Linked DNA regions of Homo sapiens: region 2 is linked to region 1. Evidence: promoter capture Hi-C in human tissues and cell types (Jung and others, 2019). All regions are on one chromosome and are shown on one strand. Each heading gives the region's core, a stretch centred on a gene start or on the middle of the fragment in contact. The rest is flanking DNA. Distances are from core to core; before and after follow the strand shown. Region 1 holds the start of IMMP1L (inner mitochondrial membrane peptidase subunit 1). Region 2 has its middle 82 kb from the start of LINC03031.

What was found. Contacts are between HindIII fragments. The study calls those that stand out against the background at their distance.
Region 2: a fragment that was not itself captured here is called in contact with the fragment with the promoter of IMMP1L in region 1 in 1 of the 25 tissues and cell types used here (heart left ventricle).

The regions. Positions count from the first base shown.
Region 1 is chr11:31,505,281-31,511,302 of GRCh38, reverse strand. It overlaps IMMP1L (inner mitochondrial membrane peptidase subunit 1), which reads left to right and starts at 1,681. Exons shown (of 6, transcript NM_001304274.2): 1 at 1,681-1,784. ELP4 (elongator acetyltransferase complex subunit 4) reads right to left here and starts at 1,536. Exons shown (of 10, transcript NM_019040.5): 1 at 1,296-1,536. The coding sequence starts at 1,518. RefSeq lists enhancers at 1,232-1,521, 654-1,543. The HindIII fragment of the contact is 2,588 bases long and covers 1-2,519 here.
Region 2 is chr11:31,956,598-31,962,775 of GRCh38, reverse strand. No RefSeq gene overlaps it. Among named protein-coding and RNA genes, the nearest start is that of LINC03031, 82 kb to the left of the region's middle. The HindIII fragment of the contact is 7,890 bases long and covers 1-6,178 here.

The DNA of each region.
Region 1 (6,022 bases), core at 432-2,931:
CAAACTTAAAGTTCAAATGTAAGAGGATATCAACTGAGGCTCACAAGGGAAAAACGGTGGACTATATATTTGCTAACTAGATATTTTGAATCACTTCTATTTACAGTACCATGCAACTCAGGAGGAAAATATATTTGAAACAATTAAGTGAAAAATACTTAAACTTATCTAGAAATAACCGGAAAATGAAATGAGAGAATCAAGAAGCCATACTCTTTCTCATAGGTTGCTGGTCTTCTTACTTTCTCTGCACTAAACCTATGAAAAGCCTACTTTGAGGGGAAAATAACCGAAAGAAATGTCAAACGAAGTACAAGAACAAGCAATGAGTTATATTTTATGAAAGTGTACAAGATTTAACAGACACATATCACACACTATGAAAAAAGTTATGTAAACACAGACGGGGTTTTAATGAAACAGCATTCAGAAATTAATCTAGAAGCTTTATTAACACAGCAAATCTGTCCTACCAACTTAATCTGGTCATTCCTTTGAATATAACAGTTATGAAACAAGCATATTCTTCAGCAGGCTTCTCATAAAAAATTCCAGAGATTTTAAAGGAAAGCCTAAGAACTAGACTTTTCTCGTTAAAATGTGAGTTAAATTTAAAGATGTCGTATGGAATGTAGCAGCAATCAATACTGGGAAGCAAAATGTATATAGAAAAAATAAAAAATATATACACAGATTTAACGCAGACACTATCTAAATATCAACGACAGGCTCAAAATACTTTATAAGGATTATGTGTCAACATAAGCCTTTAACATTCGCTCTCTTAAAGCCAAAATGTTTTAAGATTTAGAACCAGAGAACAGGCAGTCTGACGGTCAAAGAGGGGAAATCATTTTTTTCCAGCATCTTCTAATGAAGTCTGTCTCTCACAATTATAAAAACTTTTGCAGGCTGGTCTAAACCGTGAGCTGCCTGGAGAAAGCAGAAGGGAGGTATCCTGAATGAAAGCCAAACCATCTCCATAAATTAATGTCTTCCCTTGACTAGAAAGCATTTCAGGGTAAAAAGCATGTACGAATTCCTCCGTAATATGAAAAGGGGTTGGAGGGCAGGGAATGAAATAGAGAGCGAGGGCACTAAAACATGTTTAGTTAACAGCGCTCAGAAGTCTCCACACAACCCGTATTCCCCTCCATCTCAATCAGACCAGGCTATTCTCTCCTCCTCCGAAGGTTTAGGGGTCAGAAAGAGATGTGGGGTCAAAGTGGCTTCCCCGACAGGTCCCCTCCCTAAGTTTCCCCTCGGCTGAGCCCAGATCTCCGCTCTGAACCGACCTAAGAGCTGGTCTAGGGCTGGGAGCCCGGTTGATACCAGCAGCTGTCCATTCCGCACCGACGGTCGCGTGCCCGCAATGGACACCAGTCGAGGGCCGCTGTCGTTGGTCACGCTGGCTCTAGGACCCCTCCTCTGGAAACTGGTGACGTTGCTCTTGCTGGCTGTCGCCACTGCAGACCCAGTACTCGCGGCAACACTACCGCAGGTTGCCACTGCCGCCATCTTAGAGCCTCCAGTGTTAACCCAATAGGAACTCTGGGAACGCAAACACCCGTCCTATCAGAACCAGTGCCAAACTCCCGCCTCCTCGCCCCAACCGCGGCTCTCGTAACCAATAGGACTGAGACGTCAGTCCCGAGCCAACCAATCGGAAGGCGTATTGCTGAAAAGTGCGCCCTACGAAAGGACGGTCGACTTCGGCGGGGCCCAGGTGAGAAAGGCCCACCTGTGTCCTGGTTGAGGGTCTCCAGGGTTCTTTGGGGCCCGAGGTAGGTAATATCACGTAACGTTCTTCTCCTTTTGAGTGCCTTCATTCACATTGAGTTAAAGAAAAGGTTGGTGAAACAATAAACCCTTAGGGCTTATCAAGCAATTGCTAGCACCTTTCTCCGCTGTGTGTGAGGATAGACTTTTTTCCTGCTCATTTATCTTCTGATTTCTGATAGAAAATTCACTCCGCCTTCCCCACGATGTCTTTTTCTTAATTTTGTGTTATATGGAAAGGATGGGATCTCTTACCTTAATGAGTTGGTTGCTGAGCGTCTGGGCTTAGTTCGTTAGTGCCTAGTGGTAGGTGGTTTGGAATTAAACCTTAGAGCGAAAACTCTTGAACTTTGAGGCTATCTGGTTTTCCTGTGTCTGACAAACTATAGCTCTCTGACAAGTTCCGATAAGAAGCTTTTGTTAATTTTAATTAGTGTTTCTGGAAGTCTTGGATGTCTTTCCTAAGCGGTGTAAATGACAAGTGTTACTCTGACAACCTTGTTCACACATTTAATTGTCGTTTGCTGTTAAAGCAGCTGCAAATAACAGAAAATACTTAGGGTTTCTTTCCCCCAAAAAACTGCTAGGAAGAATTAGAAGTATACCTACTTTATTTTATGAACCCTGAATCGAGAGTTTATTACTAAAATACCAATTTTATGTGTGGAAAAAACATGTATTTTGAGTTGTATTTTTGTATTTAATTTTTTTTTCAAAACTGAGCAGGGACAGTGGGTAACTGATGTTTAAAGGCAATCATGATTGACAAATGTCTAAATTGAAAAGGACTCCCAAATCATTACCGCACTACTGAGTTATTGACTTTGACAGTGATCTGTGATACCTTTTAATTAGAGCCAAACCTCATTGAAATTCTTGCCATCGAATTGTTTTAAATCTCACTGACCTGTTGAAATTTTTGGGCTGATTCTGTTTGATAAATTGAAATTAGTATTGCTAAATAGTGACTGGAGTTTTTCATTTGGGGAGGATTTTTGTTTGTTTGCTTGTTTTTTAGAATCATGTTTAGGAAAAAACCCTGTTTCACAATATATCAACTGGAAAGCTTTGATCAAGGTTGCTTTCATATTGAATCTTTAAGTTACTCAATAAATAGCTGTTGAGTGATTACTGTCTGTTTGGACTTAATCTTGTCATTTTAGACCTATGGTAATAAAAATGGTCTCACCTGGAGGAGATAAAATTAACACATAGAAAACAACATAGTACTTAAAATGAACACATTAAATAGCATGTGCTAATTTTATCCTGTAGTAAATAAGCACTAGGAAGACCAAAAGAAAAAGTGACAAAGCAGTCCAATATCAGATAGAAACGTCTTGAATTTTTTTTTTCTTCAACTTTTGTTTTAGGTTCTGGGCTTCATGTGCAGGTTTGTTACATAGGTAAACGTGTGCTGTGGTGGTTTGCTGCACAGATCAACCCACCACCTCGGTATTAAGCCCAGCATCCATTAGCTATTCTTCCTGATGCTCTCTGTCCCCCCACCCCTACAAATATTTTTGATGCTGTGAACTTTTTGAAATGCTACATATAATTATTATTTTTTGACAGATGGCATTGTTTTGTGTACCTCATGATGCTATGAAGTGTATGTACATTCCGGAATCGTTAAATCTAGCTAATTAGCAATGCATTACCTCACATAGTTATCATTTTTGTGGTAAGAGTACATAACATCTACACTGTTTACATTTTTTTAAAGAATACAATATATGATTATTAACTATAGTCAGCTTGCTATAAATTCATGTTATATAATAGATTTCTTGAAATTTATTCCTCCTATCTAACTGATATTATGTATCTTTGACCAAATTCTCCCCATCCCCCCTGCCAACCATCCTGGCCTCTGGTAAACACCATTGTACTCTCTGTGCGATGAACTATTAGATTCCACCTATGAGTAAGATCATGTGATATTTGTCTTTCTGTGTCTGACTTATTTCACTTAACATAATGGTATAATTCGTTTTTATAGGCTTCTGTATTACATATTCCCTTGTTTCCTACTGTATTTACTTAACCCTTTAGATTTCCCAAGATGATGATAGTGGTGCTTTGTTTGCCTCATTACTAGAACTGAAGAATTATTTTCCAACTTTGACTTGGACTATAATTCTGGAAAGATGATCTATATACACACCAGAGTATTCATGAAATTAGGATATATATCTGGTATAACACTATCGTAGGATAAATATGCTTTTGTTTTTTTTTTCTGAGACGGAGTCTAGGTGTGTTCCCCGGGCTGGAGTGCAGTGGCGCGATCTCGGCTCACTGCAAGCTGTGCCTTCCTGGGTTCACACCATTCTCCTGCCTCAGCCTCCCGAGTAGCTGGGACTACAGGCGCCCGTCACCACGCCCTGCTGATTTTTTGTATTTTTAGTAGAGATGGGGTTTCACCGTGTTAGCCAGGATGGTCTCAGTCTCCTGACCTCGTGATCCGCCCACCTCGGCCTCCCAAAGTGCTGGAATTACAGGTGTGAGCCAGCGCGTCAGCCAAATATGGGTTTTTTGTTTGTTTGTTTTTTGTTTTCTTTTTAGACGGAGTCTCGCTCTGTTGCCAGGCTGGAGTGCAGTGGCATGATCTCGGCTTACTGCAACCTCCGCCTCCTGGGTTCAAATGATCCTCCTGCCTCAGCCTCCTGAGTAGTTGGGACTACAGGCATGCACCACCATGCCCAGCTAATTTATGTATTTTGAGTAGAGACAGGCTTTCACCATGTTGGCCAGGATGGTCTCAATCTCTTGACCTTGTGATCCACCCGCCTCGGCTTCCCAAAGTGTTGAGATTACAGGTGTGAGCCACCGCGCCCAGCCGCCTTTTTTTTTTTTTTTTTTAACAAAGATAAAATCTTTGCTCCCAAATAATTTCAAATTCTTGAACTTACCAGCAAGTAGCAGAGTTGAATATAAAACACGAGAATAAATAAAGTATTCATGGAAAGGAAGAGTTAAAAGTTATATGTTGGCTGGGCACAGTGACTCATGCGTGTAATTCCAGCACTATGGGAGGACGAGGCGTGCAGATCACAAGGTCAGAAGATCGAGACCTTCCTGGCTAACATGGTGAAACCCCGTCTCTACTAAAAAATACAAAAAAATTAGCTGGGCATGGTGGCGGGCTTCTGTGGTCCCAGCTGCTCAGGAGGCTGAGGCAGGAGAATGGGGTGAACCCGGGAGGCAGAGCTTGCAGTGAGCCGAGATTGCGCCACTGCACTCCAGGCCTGGGCGACACAGCGAGACTGTGTCTCAAAAAAAAAAAAAAAAAAAGTTATATGTTTAGGTGCGTTCTTAATTAATTCTTTATGAAGGACATACTAAATTCTAGGAAGTGCACCAGAGCTCAGGTTACAGGAGAAAAAAATACTGTGTCAGTACTCTTTGAGTTCACAGTTGGGGAAGATACGTGGGCAAATAGGTCAATAAAGTACAGTTGATCCTTGAACAGTGTGCGGATCAGGGGTGTCGACCCCCACACCCGTGTAGTTGAAAACACGCATATAACTTTTGACCCCTCCCAAACTTAACTGCTAATAGTCTACTTTTGACTACTGGATGCTGTACCAATGACATCTGTGGATTAACACATAATTTGTATATGTATTATGTACTGCATTCTTTCCATAAAGTAAGCTAGAGAAAATGTTAATCAAATCATAGGAAGAAAATATATTTGCCATGCATTAAGTGCAGGTGGATCATTATACAGGTCTTCGTTCTGACATTTTTCATGTTGAGTAGTCTGAGCAGAAGGAGGAAGAGGAGGGGTTGGTCTTGTAGTCTCAAGGGTGCCAGAGACAGAGAAGGTGGGAGGGGAGGAAGGAGAGGTAGACGCAGTCAATATAGCTTTATGGAAATACATACTAATTTGTCTGTTTTGCTTTTTCAGCTCTCTAAAAATGTTTTTGTACAGTACCATTTCTTCCACTGTTTGCTTTAGTTTTAGTATCTGTGTTATAATAGGGGTCCATGTCAGAAGAAGTCACAGCAGTCTTGAATAACTGGAAGACTTCTGCCAGATTGCCTAATGTCAGTTTGTTTTCTGGCACTGCTTCTTCTACTTCTTTCTCATCATCTGGCACTTGTTTGGAAGCATTCATCTCCATCAAGTCATCTTCTGTTAATGCCTCTGGTGTGGTGTCTGTTAACTCTTGAATTTCTCCAAGGTGCCTATCTTAAACAACTATTCCCTCCCGACGTTTTTTATTTTTTATTT
Region 2 (6,178 bases), core at 1,284-3,783, 450 kb before region 1:
GAGGACATTACACTAAGTGAAATAAGCCAATCACTGAAAGACAAATCCTGCGTGATTCCACTTATTTGAGGTACTTAGTCAAATTCATAGACACAGAAAGCAGAGTGATGGTTGCCAGGGTCTGAGGACAGTGGAAAATGGGGAGTTGTTGTCCATGGGCACAGAATTCCCTTCTAGCAAGATGGAAATGTCCTGGAGATGGGTTGCACAGCAATATGAATGTACTTAACACTGCTGAACTGTACACCTAACAATGCGTAAGATGACAAATTTATGTTATGTGTATTTTACCATTTAAAAAAAAACCCTAAAGATTTGTTTGTTTTCGTTTTTAGGGAGGAAAATGGCATTTTTCTAACTGCTATTCCCTAAAGGCTTAATTGTACCCCCTGGGGCCTTCATCATTTTCTCTCACCCACTCAATAAACATTATAGAAAGATCCAGAAACTAAGAGTGTAAGTTTCAGCTATAAAAACAACCATCCCCATTTGTACAGCACTTTACACTTTACTGCACTCTTCTAGTTTGGTTCTCCTTGCCATCCTGTGAGAAGAGCAGGCTGGGTTTTCTGTCATTCTGATTCTATGGATGAAAACTGAGGAGTGAATTGTCCCATGTCAGAGGAGGGGTTCAGATCCCAGTCCTTTGGCTCCAAGCTCTCTAAACCCTGGGAAGAATGGAGAAGGAAAAGTATGGAGAAGGGAAAGGCTCTGAGAGTCCTGTGGCCCTGCACACTGTCGGCTGGAGGCCTGCCTCCTGGAAGGTCGTAATGGCTGCTGCCCTTGATTGCACAAAACAGCAACATCCCCTCCTTCCCAGAAAGCCTTTGGGTCTTGACTGACTTACTAACTTTTATATTTGACAAGTACGTCAACAATTTTAAAAGCCAACTATCATCTGCTGCCAACATTTTAATACCAAAAGAATAGTCCTTTAAATGGAGTAAGTTTATTTTCAGTTAAAAATTGCCATATTATCTTATCTTTTCACATTTCATGTAGCCTAGAGAAAAGTATGGCCCCCACCGTATTTGAGGCCCTCTTATCAATATTGATTGTGGAGTTATTCACTGTATTTGTTACTGATGATTAAAGCAACAATATGTGTGAATGAATTTTAAGTAATTTTGGCAGATTCAAAGTTATCCCATGTGGTTGCCAAAATATGCCCCTCCCATACCCACTGCCGCCCCCAGCTGCCAACCCCAAAGATGTCCACAATCCTAATTCCTACAACCTATGAATCTGTTGTATCATATGGCAAGTAGAAACTGCAAATGGAATTAAGGTTGCTAATCACCTGATCTTAAAATAGGGCAATTATCCTGGATTATTGGGGTGAACTCAGTGTAATCACAAGGCATCTTAAGTGGAGAAGAGTCAGAGAGATGGCATAGGAGTAAAGACTCATCTGACCATTGCTGGCTTTGAAGACAGAATGTGGCCACAAGCCAAGGAAGGAGGTAGCCTTTAAAATCTGGAAAAGGCAAGCAAACAATTCTCCCCTAGAGCCTGCAGAAAAAGCATAGCCCGGCCGACACCTTGATTTTAGCCCACTGGCATCCATTTAGGACTTCTGAGCTTCAGAACTGTAAGATAATACAATCGTATTGGCTTAAGCCAACAAGTTGGTGGTAATTTGTTACAGCAGCCACCTGAAGCAAATGCAGATTTCACGCAGCCTGGAGAAAAGTATGGCACCCATTTGCGTTTGAGGACTTGTGATCTACAACAGTTATGAAGTCATTCACAAATAATTTGTTACTGATAATGATTAAATCTATGTGTGAATGAGTTTTAGCAATTTTTGAGCAGATTCAAGAGTATCCCTATCACAGTGTTATTTTCCAAATTGCTTCCCTGAGTGAAAAAGACGGGGTTATAGCTGGGGCTGAAAATCATACAGAAATCATGAACGCATTTTTTTCTTTTGGATTGAGCATTTATTTTGTGCTCAAGACTGTCCTCAGTGCTTTATCTACATAATCACAGTTACCCACCCACCCCCCAAAACCTGGAAGGTAGGTACTATTCATATCACTCATTTACTTGCCCAAGATAATGCAAAGCTAGTGATCGAGCTAGGATTCGAACCTGTCATCAATGAGGAGAGTGGGTTGGGCAACCTCATGCCACTGGATAGGTGTGTTGTCATAGGTAGAGAAGGTTGAGAACCCTAACCTAGCACAGGAAGCCACACCGCTGCATATATCAGGGCCGCCTGCCCTAGCCGGGCCATACAACACGTCTGCCACTCCACTATCATCAAGCTGTGGCACTCTTTTCCCAATTTACAAAAACAAAACTTTTTAAATAATAATAATTTCAATGGAAAAGCATTTCTCAAGTTAGCTTCTTCTCTGACACATTTCTCTTAAACTTTTGTTACTTGGTTACCATTGTTTGAGTGTCTACGTGCCAAGCACTAGAGGGAGTAAAACATATTATTTGTCATTAAGTCCTCACCCCAGTATTTTCCGTCCCTTTGACAGATGAGGAAATGGAGTTTCAGAGACGTGAAGTAACTACTGCAGAGTTAAATAGCCAATAAATAGCAGGAGACTCCAGGGCTCCACAGTCAGATGTAGCCCTAAATTATCTATTTAATCCTTTAAACTTAAAACGTTAATGCTTCATGGTTTTCTGCAAAAATCCCAGTGACTTCCAAGTGCTGGACCTGAAGATTCCCGGTCTGGCATTTGCTCTTTCGATCATGTGCTGTCCTCATATGCAGTTTATTTATTAGGCCTGAGACATTGCGACTTAGCTCCAAGTTCCCTTGAGGCTATTTTCTTGAGACTTTGGAGGTTTCAAGCAAATCAGGGATTGGCTAACAAAACATTCTAAAACAGGTGAGTCATGGTTAAGTCTTACCCATAAGAGGAAGCCAAGTGTAAAGTCTGAGGGGATTCAAAGGACTCTCCCTTTCTCTCCTTCCTCACCCTGAAACCTGGCTGTGCTCCCTAGACACGTTCATAGTGGCAAAGTCATGGCTGTTTCAGCATATTAATAGGACGACTCTGGGAGCGATAAAGGCCATAGAATGGAGCCACTGAGAGAAGCTTTTGTGTCTCCAAGACTCCAACCCCTTTGATGAAACAGATGTTTGGGCCAGGCCCTCCTTTACAAGGAGAGTTAAACCTCAGTAAACAGCAGGAAAACCTCCTTGGTGGCAATGAACAGCCCACACGCTGGTCTTCCCTAGCAGCAGATGGGCTGGGGAAGGGGTGGCCTCCTGTCATCAAGCCCTGTGCCACCCGCTCAGAGACTGCAGAGCTGGTGTCTGTGACACGTGGTCGGTCACCTTGGAGGCTTTGATTTACGGTTGACTTTGGGAAAGACCAGCCTCTGACCTTGGCAGCCTGTTGCCTCACCATCTTTTCTCTAGGTTGGGAGAACTTTCCATCAAGATGGATGCACATCCCAAGTCTGGCCCCATGAAGGAGCTTCCCAGAGACCTTCTGGCTCAAATGTAGCAGGAAGGCTTGAAATGAAACCCTTTCCTCATCTGCCAGTGTCCCTGGAGCAATCTACAGACAAATGTAGGAAAATCCAGGACTAATATTGCCTCATGAGTTGAAGCTCAACATTTGAGAGTGCTGTATGTATCATCCACAGGCCCATGAAGCCTTCCTGGGTTTACTCTGAAGCATCAACTGCCCCAACTGCACAGCCAGGCTGCTCGAAAACAAAAACAAAAAAAATACATGGGAGTTACCCAAGGATGATTTTTCTCAAAATCTGCCAAGTAGTTCATTCAGTTTAGGGTGTGCGTTTGGGTAGGGTCAATTATTTCAGCAAAACTGTGGATTTAGCATTATCTTCCTTGAACCAGAAACATCTGCATAGGATGTATAAGCCAACAGGCAGTTAGAAATGGCCGAACAGGTGGGTGTAAAGAAGAAAAAAAAAATGTGTGAGCTATATTTAATTGAATACCAAAAATAGCTAATACATACTGAGCACTTACCATGGGCCACAAACTGTGCTAAGCACGTCATATGTATCCCACTCAATTCTTGCAGTGATCCTCTGAGGTTGATACTCTTATTATCCTTATTCTGTAGGAGATGAAACAGACACAGAGAGGTTAAGTAAGTTGGCCAAGGTTGCACAGCTATTAAGTGCCAAGCTGAGATTTGAACCCAGGCAACCAGGCTCCAAAGTCCATATGCTAACTACTATGATCGTCTTTAAAATCTGCCTAAAAGTAGATGGACGAGAGAGTTGCCCCTTTAAGACAAGTTAATCCTCGGTGTTCAAATTGGCTGTCTATGTGCATGTGTGTATGCGCAAGACACACGACTGCACACACTGTGAACTGAAACGTTTGGAGCTCCCAGAACCCCCCTGTTCCCATCTTATGAGTGCAGAGACACAGCTCTTCCCTCCCCAGGCATTTTGGCAGGCCAGAGGCCCGCTTAAGCCAGAGGCCTTGGCCGGCCAGGCTACCGGGAGGTGGCGCTGTGTCACTTTCCTACTCCGGAGCTTTTGTTTTCTGCGGGCTGCACGCTGGAGGTGGGGAGGCCAATTTGAGCAGAGCCTGTCGCCAATTTCCCTGATTTGAAATCTCACTCTCTTCTGTCACTTCCTTCAAATGAGCTGGGAGATGTTCAACAGATGACAGTCCTGAAAACGAGCCAAAACTGTTCTCTTAATCCCATCTCAAGATTTATTTGAAAAGGGTGTTTCCAAACAAGGAGCAGATTTCATGTGTCAGAATTACACTCACGCTGACCTCTTGGTTTTCAAAAGGAGAGAGGAAAAACACACCCAAACTCTCAACCACCTTGTAAAAACTCAGGTGATCATCGGGCCATGGGCTCAGGCCCTGTCCACAAGGAGGTACACAAATGCCCATTCCCCGGGAAATCCCAGGGTTAGCTGGAGGATCTACCTCTCTCCTGTGCACCACATCTCTCCAGGCCTCTGTGGACTTGCCGGTCCAAGGTGGCCCACCTCCTGCCGCCCTTCAAGAGGCTTCTCTCTAAGGAGCCGAATGCTCAAGGGTTCATGGCACTGCTGACATTTTGACATTTGCACATCAAATGAGCTGTACACTGACTTATCAAAGGAAGAATCACCCAACACGGTGATGCTTAGGCCTGCAAGGGAACCTCAAAGAACTTCGTCTGTCTCCCAGTTTTCTAGATGAGAAAATTGAAGCCCAGAGACAGGAAGTAAATCTCAACCTGGTAAATGGAAGAGCTGCAAGTGGCTCTCAGAATGCCCTGGCCGGGACAGCTGCCACCGCCTTAGGATAGAGTTTTAACCCTGAGGCACAGGAGGAGGAATGGAGCTTTGGAGTCAGACAGGCCTGGTTTGAATCCCAGTGCTTTAAGTATATTTGCATGACCCTGGGAAAATCACTAAATATTTCTGAGCCTCAGTTTCATCTGGAAAATGGGACAATATACAATCTGATCATGGGATTGTGATGAAGAGTAAATAAAATAACATACACGTAGGTTTCCAACATATGTTGCTTCATCCTTGTTTATTTTTTTGTTTTTTTGTTTTGCTTTGTTTTGTTTTGGTGTTATTTTAACCCCAATCGGAGAAGCTGGTTTCAGATTGGGGCTGACCCAATGGTAGGCACGCAGGCACCTTAAGAATCTAACTGTGCTTTGTAACTATCCTGTCCTCAGACCATCAAGCTACCTTGATCTTGGCTTGCAAATGTGGAGGACTGTCTTTTCTGTCTTTTGGGATCTGGAAACAAAGTTAGCCTTAGGCACAAGGTTTTAGGAGATTTGGGAAGGCTTACCATTCCTAAACCTTTCTCTTATCTTTCTAACGCCCATCCCTTGGCAAACATGTGTGTCCTCAATGCATTGAGTAAATGCTGTAATCTGGGCACATATCTTTCTTTTTTCAACAATCAAATACCCCCATGAGTGTGATGGTGATACCAACACCTTAGCATGAATTTTTTCAATTAGATTGCTTTCTTGCTAATGTCTGCATTAAGGAGATAGAAATTTTTATGAGGATGAGAGAATGGCTAAAAAATAAGGGATGTAATTTTTAAGCTGAGCTAAGGGGGTACCCCAAGAAGAAGCTTGAGCAGCAAGATGTAGCAGGCGAACAGTGTGGATAGAGAAAGAACACTGCAGGGAAATTCAGGGATCCAGAAATAATGGCAGGAGGGCTTCAGAGTTAACCTCATCAACCTGGA